2 separate regions of the Homo sapiens genome follow, and region 1 is linked to region 2. The links are contacts of gene promoters, found by promoter capture Hi-C in human tissues and cell types (Jung and others, 2019). All regions are on one chromosome and are shown on one strand. The core of a region is centred on a gene start or on the middle of the fragment in contact, and the rest is flanking DNA. Distances in the headings are between cores, read along the strand shown. Region 1 has its middle 230 kb from the start of SORL1-AS1. Region 2 holds the start of UBASH3B (ubiquitin associated and SH3 domain containing B).

Region 1 (4,049 bases), core at 1,356-3,855, 980 kb after region 2:
CCATCAAGGACTCTCCAAATCATATCATGCAAAAGTGAGCATCCCCTGCCCTGTCCTCCTGGAGATCCTACCAGTAGCATTAGTCATTTGGCATTTAGCACACGCTGACATTCATTCATTTATCATTCATTTATTCAACAGATACTTATCAGACCATTATCACATAGTATTAACATTTTCTTCCCATACTTGCACATTATCTATTCAATTATGTTATAAACTCTTTGGAGGAGAGCACTAAGATTTTAAACTTATTTGAATGTACACATTCATATATATGTTACATTACTGATCAAAGAGAATGTGGTCTGTTTCATGCCTCTATGTTGTTATACATATTGTTCCATTTGCCTAGAACATCCTCTCTCCAGCTGTCATGATTCCCATCTGTCAGGCAAATTCTTACTCATCTTTAAATAAACAAGTGAGTCTGATCTCTCCCTCCTTTGGGTGTCCTCTACCAACAACACATCACACTTGTCCAGCTCTTATCCTCATGATTTTCTTGTCTGTCTTGTTTGGTGAATGATTCTCCCTCCTGAAACCACTAACAATAGTATTTTATGATATACTCAAGTACTATATGTTCTTCACAGGAAAAGCATTAATTAAATTTATTCAGGTGTTGTAGTCATGGTTGTACCAAATATATCTATGAACTTTAAACATACATTCTCATTACTAGTCCCTTATGTAGTAAAATGTGTTTCCTTCCTTTCAACCCTCTCAACATCCATGTGATGTTGCTACAAAACATCCCCATATTGCATTTGAACTAATAAGTTCTGCAGCTTCATGCTTCTTTTGCTGTTTTTCATATTATTCCATTTGCCTGGAATGCCCTAAGAATAGAAAGAGATTAAATGAATCAGTAAAACATACTCAATGTACACTGAACAGATCAGCCTGGCCAACATGGTGAAACCCCATCTCTACTAAAACTACAAAAAACTAGCCAGACGTGGTGGTGCACATTTGTAATCCCAGCTACTCGGAGGCTGAGGCTGGAGAATTGCTTGAACCTGGGAGGTGGAGGTTGCAGTGAGCCGGGATTGCGTCACTGCACTCCACACCGGGCAACAGAGTGAGACTCCGTCTCAAAAAAAAAAAAAAAAAAAAAAAAAGGACGCTGAAGGACCCCATATTTGTTCATATTCGGCATTCCTTGGGTACTTCAAATGATATTTAGAAACAAAAAAAGAGTTCAGTTTTTTGGTTAAAAGAAAATTCTGAGAAATCACGAAGCTCAAGACAGGTGATGTTAAGGATAGCCCAGTGGTTCAACTGGTATTTTCTAATCAAACTTCTTTGATTCAAATTTCAGCTCCATCTCTTTCTGGTTATGTGGCCTGAAGCATGTTATTTTATATCTCGAATTCTCAATTTCTTCAACTATTAAGTGAGGATAATAGAAGAACTCATATTATTGTAATGATTCAAAACTCACAGTATTATGATGACTCAAAAAGATAAGGTATATAAAACATGTAGCCTGCTTCCAGGCACACAGTAAGCACTTCATAAGCAAATAAATGTTATTTATAAATATTATGCCAAAGACCAAAAACAGATAAATATTTTCATATTTCTAAAAAGCATATTCCAAAACCTGCTTAATGGTAAACATTACATTCTCTGGAAAAATCCTTAAAACGTCATTAAATGTCTGACTTACGAAGAGAAAGAGATGTGATCCCTATAGGCCAGCATGGGTTCATTATGAATAAGTCAAATCCACTAATCTTATTTCTGTTTGAAAAGGCTTATCAGACAAGTGAATTAATGTGATCATACAGAGGTCATATATATTTTTTGTTGGTTTTGTACTCTTCTGGTGATTTCTTTAAAGAAATACAGACAAAATGAAAATTCTGTTATGTAAGCTGATTAAACCTGTATCAATGGCCATGATGGAGTAACTGGTACCAGGTTTGCCCTCCTATAGTAAATAACTTAAAAACTGGACAAAAAAAAACAATTATTTTCAAACATTAGAAAATAGGCAATGCTGGACTGCGATCTCTGAGAAAAGAGATGCAAACTAGATGAGCTATAGAAGAGGATGGGCATTCTGTCTGGAAGCATTTTCAAGGCCACAGCAGACAGGAAAGGAGCCCAAGCAAAGCACAGCATTCTTGCTGAATTGAGGAGGCAGAAATCAGAGTTTGAGCAGGCAGGGGCAGCTGGAATTTATGAAATAGAATACAACAGAGCAGGAATTCTACACAGGAAAAGAGCTCCAGAAATTTGCATTGAGTCTTTTATTAAGTATTAAGCTGCATATTTTCAGACAGAAGCTCTATGAGGCCAGGAAAACAACAAATATTGGGGAGTGGTAAACTAAACAATTTCCAGAGCTCACATGGGCTGGAAGATAGTTAAGCTCCAGCCAGCCAGCATGAAGAGAGTTCATAGAACCTCAGGGCATTTAGCAGAGACTACAGAAGAACCACACCTTAGCAGTAATAAGATAAAACTACCGTGAGGGTAAAGACTATTCTAGACCCAAGTTTTAAAAATTTTTACACAAATCTCAACACAGTCAGTGTGATCCACAAGTAACTTAATAGTCTGCCAAAACAAAATTCACCGGTCTTTAAAGGAAAACAACAAAATCCAAGACACTCAACAATGTAGCTTTCACAATGTACAACACCCAATGGACACCCTACACCAGAAATGGTTAGATATGGAACCCATAGTCAGTTTAAAAAAAAAAAAAAACAGGCAATAAGAACAGTGACAGAACAGATAGAAATTATGAAAGTAGCAGACAACAACTTTTAAATGGCTAATATAAACAAGTTTAATGATTTAAGAGAGAATATAAAAGTATAAATTAAAAATATGAAAAAAAATCAAAATGGAACTTCCAGAGCTGAAAAATATTATATCTGAAATAAAAAATTTACTAAATAGACTTACCTAAAGCAGACTAGACATTGCAGTAAAAAAGACCAGTTCTGTTTTAAGAACTTGCCTGAAGTTCTTTTAGGCAAGGCAATAGAAATTATCCAAATTGAAGCAGAGGAAAGAAAAAAAGAATTAGAAAAAAAATGAACATAACATCAGTGACTTTCAAGACAAGAGGAAGCAGTCTAGCATGTGTGTAATTTGAGTCCTAGAAGGACAAACATAAAATATTATTTAAATAAATAATGGTTACAAATTTACCAAATTTGATGAAAATTATAAATCCAGAGATCCAAGACACTCGACAAAGAGCATGTAGAATAAAAATAATTGGACACACCAGAGTGAAACTGTATAAATCAAAGATAAAGAGAAAATTGCAAAAGCACTTAGAGAAAAAATATATACAAAGAAGCAAAATAATACTGACTGCAGACTTTCCAAAAAAAAAAAGTAAGCCTGAAGGAAATTGAATGACACTTTTAAAGTGCTGAAAGAAAATGGTCAATCCAGAATTCTATATCCATTGAAAATCTGTCTCAAAAATGGAGGCAAAATAAAGACATTTTTTTAAAACAAAAGCTAAAAGAATCTGTCATCAGCCTATCTGCATACAAAAATATTAAAGAAGTTTAGGCTGAAGGAAAATGACATCAAATGGAAACTGCGATCTACACAAAGAAATGAAGAGCATCAAAATGGTAAGTGTATGAATATAAAATATATTTAAGTGAATTTAATTAAAGACATTCTTTTCAAAAATGTAAAACTTTCCCAAAAAGCAAACTCCCACCTCAGATGGTTTCCGTAGTCAGTTAGTTGAAACTTACAAGGAAAAAATAATACTTTTTTCACAGAATATTTTTTAGAAAACAAAAAAGGGGAAACATTTGCCAACTCATTTTATAGGACAGTAATAATGTGATACCCAAACCAAATAATAAAATTACAAGAAAAAAATTCAAACTAATATCCTTCATAAATATAAACACAAAAGTGTTAGCAAAATATTCGCTAATTAAATTCAGCAATGTATAAAAATCATAATGCATCATAACCAAACAGGATTTATACCAAGAATGTAATACTGATTTAACATTTGAAAATCAGCCACTGAAATTTGCCATAAAATTTTG
Region 2 (3,674 bases), core at 519-3,018:
TGGCAGAACCCCATCTCTTCTAAAAATATAAAAATTAGCCCGGTGTGGTGGCGCATGTCTATGGTCCCAGCTACTCAGGAGGCTAAGGTGGGAGAATCGCTTGAACCTGGGAGGCGGAAGTTACAGAGATTGCGCCACTGCACTCTAGCCTGGCGACACAGCGAGACTCCGTCTCAGAAAAATAAATACATAAATAAAGTTATCACCTGAAAAAAAAATGTGAGAAGGGAAAAAAATAAAAAGGACTTTCATTTACTTGGCCCTCACTGATTAAGTTTGGCCAACTCTCCTGTTCAGGTGCTGTAATTCAAAGATGAAAAGAAGCTGCGCCCAGTCCGGACGCCAGGCCTTGTGTCCCCACCTAAGAAATCTGCACGGCAGGGATTAACCAGGGGAGAAGGGCCTGGCCGCTGGGCCTTGGCTTCCTCTTAGGCAGAGTTCCAGCCCCTGAGACTTGAGCCGACCGGCCTGAGACGACTCCGGCCGCCGCCACCCTATGCTGGCAAACAGGCCTCTCCCCAGCAGGCTCCAGGGGCAGCCACCTGCGCTCTCCCTGCCCTCCCCTACCCCACTCTCCTAGAGGAAGGATGAAGAACAGCTCCCCCTCCTTACTCTCAGGCACCCACAGATTTCTGAGCTGCCGTCACCACTGACGAGAACCCAGGTCCCCTGGAGGGATCGCTTCTCCTTCTGATTCCATCCTCCCCATCAATGAACACGCAGGAACACCCACGCTCCCGCTCCTCCTACTCCAGGGGGAGACCGAACCCGAGAGCGACATCCGGAGCTGGAAGCCGCTGCAACGGGGGCGCCGGCCTCCCTGCCCCGCAGTCTCCCGCCCTTTCCCAGACACCGGAGGATCCCAGACCAGCCCAGTATTCCAGACGGAGAGGGTGCCCGAGTCCTCCGCAGGGCCCCGCCTCCCTAGGCGCTCGGCGCTGGAGACCTAGGGGAGCGCGCGAGAGAAACGCTGAGCTCCACCCGGCTGGGGCGGAGGCTGAGCACTATACCCGGGACTCGAACCCCGCGCCCTCGTCCCCCAGCTTTAGGCATCCCACGGCGAGCCCTGGCCCAACGCCCCCGCGCCGCGTCTTCCCCCGCACCCCCGCCCGGAGCCGAGTCCCGGGTTGCCAGCGCGCCCATCCCGCCCCCAACAGGTCTCGGGCAGCGGGGAGCGCGCTGCCTGTCCCGCAGGCGCTGGGAGGCGAGCCGGAGCGAAGCCGAGGGCCGGCCGCGCGCGCGGGAGGGGTCGCCGAGGGCTGCGAGCCCGGCCACTTACGCGCGGGCTCTGGGGAACCCCATGGAGAGGAGCACGTCCAGCGCCGATCCATGCTTGATGGTGCCGGGGCGCTGTTGGCGGTTCCTCCGGGGGGTGACTTTGCTGTACAGCTCCTCTCTCGCAGCCATGCCGAGCGGACTGGGGTGGCCGTACTGAGCCATGGCTCAGCGGCCAGCCATCGCCAGGGAAGGAGCCCGAGCCGGATGGTTCGGGAAGGAGGAGGGAGTCGGGCTGGGCCAGGGGAGGGGGCTCGGGGACCCAGAGCCAGGCAGGAGGCGGCGGCAGCGGAGGCGGCGCTCCGAGCTTCCCCAGTGTCGGGACTCTGACGCTTCCTGGTGAGGCCACAGGAGCCAGAACGCCGGCAAGCGGCCGCTGCGGGACCAGCCTCAGCCACTCGGGCCCCCGGCTGCCCCCAGCTCTGCGCCTGCAGTAGCCCTGTCTCCTCCGCCCCCTTCCCTCTCCTCGCCTAGCAGTCCGGGAATTTGCAATGAGTAATTTTTGAATGGATCAAAAAGGAAAAGGAGCCTTGTGGGCTGGCCCTGACTTGCCTGTACCCGGGCCCCGCCCCTCTCTTAAAGCGGCCGCGCTGTCCGAGGCTGCTCCGTGCGGGCAAGAGCTGTAGTCGCGCTACTTGGAGACGGAGGATCCCAACCTTATGGGCTGCTTGTGTGCTTCACCTCCCGAGAGTCACCCCCGGCGCCCCAGCCCTCTCCTTGGCTGGCATACCCGCCCAGCTGGGCCTCAAGACAGGAGATCAACCCATCTCAAGTTTCATGTGATTCTAGATGCGGTTATTAATGGAAATTGGGTGAACTGGTGGATGATACTAATGGACCAGAAGGCCAAGCCGTAAGGCCTAGGTAAAAGGTTTTGCTTCTCAAAGATCCTGCAAAACCCAAAGGGTTGTTAGGACCATCGGAAGTTGAGTTCCCAATCAGCCGGCCAAGTGGCTGCACTAAAGACCTACTGCGCTCTACAAGGTTATGGTCAGTGACTGAATAGTGCCTTCCCGGTGGGGCAGAGGGGTTGGGGAGAAGGACCTCAGGTTCTCAGAGGTGGCAGGACCTGGGAGGGGACAAGAAAAGAGGGACAGGGCAGAAAGAAGAGGGAAGGGAAAAAGAAAGGAGGAAGGAGGAGGAGAAGAAGGAAGGGCTAGGAGGGTAGAGGAAGAAGGAACAGAGAAAACATACTTCCTAATTATAAGAGGTGTTCAAAAGGGAACGGGCTTATTTCATTAGGGAGTGGATATCCTGTCAATAAAAGGATTCAAAGACGGACCGAATCACCACTGCACAATAATAAGTGAATTGTATCATAGGCTGGACAAAACTACTCCCACTGCAAAGATGGTGGAAGCCACAACCATATTGATGCCCCATGCCCCACCTGGTGAATTTGGCTGGGGGATGCTAACCCTCTTTCGTTTGGAAACAAAGTCATTGTCTTCAGTCAGGGACAAGGGTCCCACTTGCTATAATGAAAGAGGCAATGAGTACACCCTAACTGATAGTCTTTTTTGGGTAATAATAATAATAAAACCTAACATTTATTGGGCTCTTGTATGTGCCAGTCATTGTGCTAATCGTAATGAATGAACTCACTGAAGTTTTATACTGACCCTAGGAGTGTGTTTAATCATTATCCCAGTTTTACAGATGAGAAAACTCAGCTCAGAGAGGTTGGGGAAGATCATAGAGCTGGTAAGTGCGTAGCTACAGCACTCGTATCCACTGCGGTGCCTTAGACAAGTTACTTCTCTCTACAGCCTAATTTCCTCATTGGTATGGACCGTGGTAACCTAACCTTGCACACACTGGGTTTTCCAGAAATGTCAGTCCGGGCCTGTCCCTGGTTGGAATATGGGGGAGGGATGGTGACCAGCACCCATGGAGTGGCTTTTTGAGGTTGCTTTATAAGGCCTGTGAAGGTTTTACCAGGGGAAATGATACAGTGTAACTCCCTGAGCCCGGAATTGGTTTCCTAAAGAATAGCCAGTGGTGTTTGGAAGCAGGGAGATAAGACAGCTGGAGCTTAAGCAACAATGTGTATTAATTCTGCCTCCTGCTGTACAAAGGATGAGGGAAAATTAATGCTTCCTGGGTAGTAGCTGCTTCCAGAGCAAAGGGGATATCCTGGAGACCTTGCAGAATGCTCTTCCAGGACATGGAGCAAAAAGACAAGACTGGGCTGGCAACACCATACCTAGTATTAGCCTCCTTGGATGTGTTCGGTAAAACATGCTGGATTTTATCCAGTATTCTGAATTGTTTCCAAATGCCTGGGCTGAAAGTCAAATGATCTGGATCTTAGTCAAGAGATAATAATGTATGTGAAAGCGCTTTGTAAACCATAAAGCGCTACATAAATGATAACTCAAATTTATTGAGTACTTACT

The links. The method cuts DNA at HindIII sites, captures the fragments that hold promoters and counts their contacts. A contact is called where the count stands out against the background at its distance.
Region 1: a fragment that was not itself captured here is called in contact with the fragment with the promoter of UBASH3B in region 2 in 1 of the 25 tissues and cell types used here (hippocampus).

Annotation. Positions count from the first base shown.
Region 1 is chr11:121,678,114-121,682,162 of GRCh38, reverse strand. No RefSeq gene overlaps it. Among named protein-coding and RNA genes, the nearest start is that of SORL1-AS1, 230 kb to the right of the region's middle. The HindIII fragment of the contact is 7,595 bases long and covers 1-4,049 here.
Region 2 is chr11:122,653,816-122,657,489 of GRCh38, reverse strand. UBASH3B (ubiquitin associated and SH3 domain containing B) reads right to left here and starts at 1,768. Exons shown (of 14, transcript NM_032873.5): 1 at 1,280-1,768. The coding sequence starts at 1,440. RefSeq lists a silencer at 1,109-1,158 and an enhancer at 1,362-1,863. The HindIII fragment of the contact is 12,544 bases long and covers 1-3,674 here.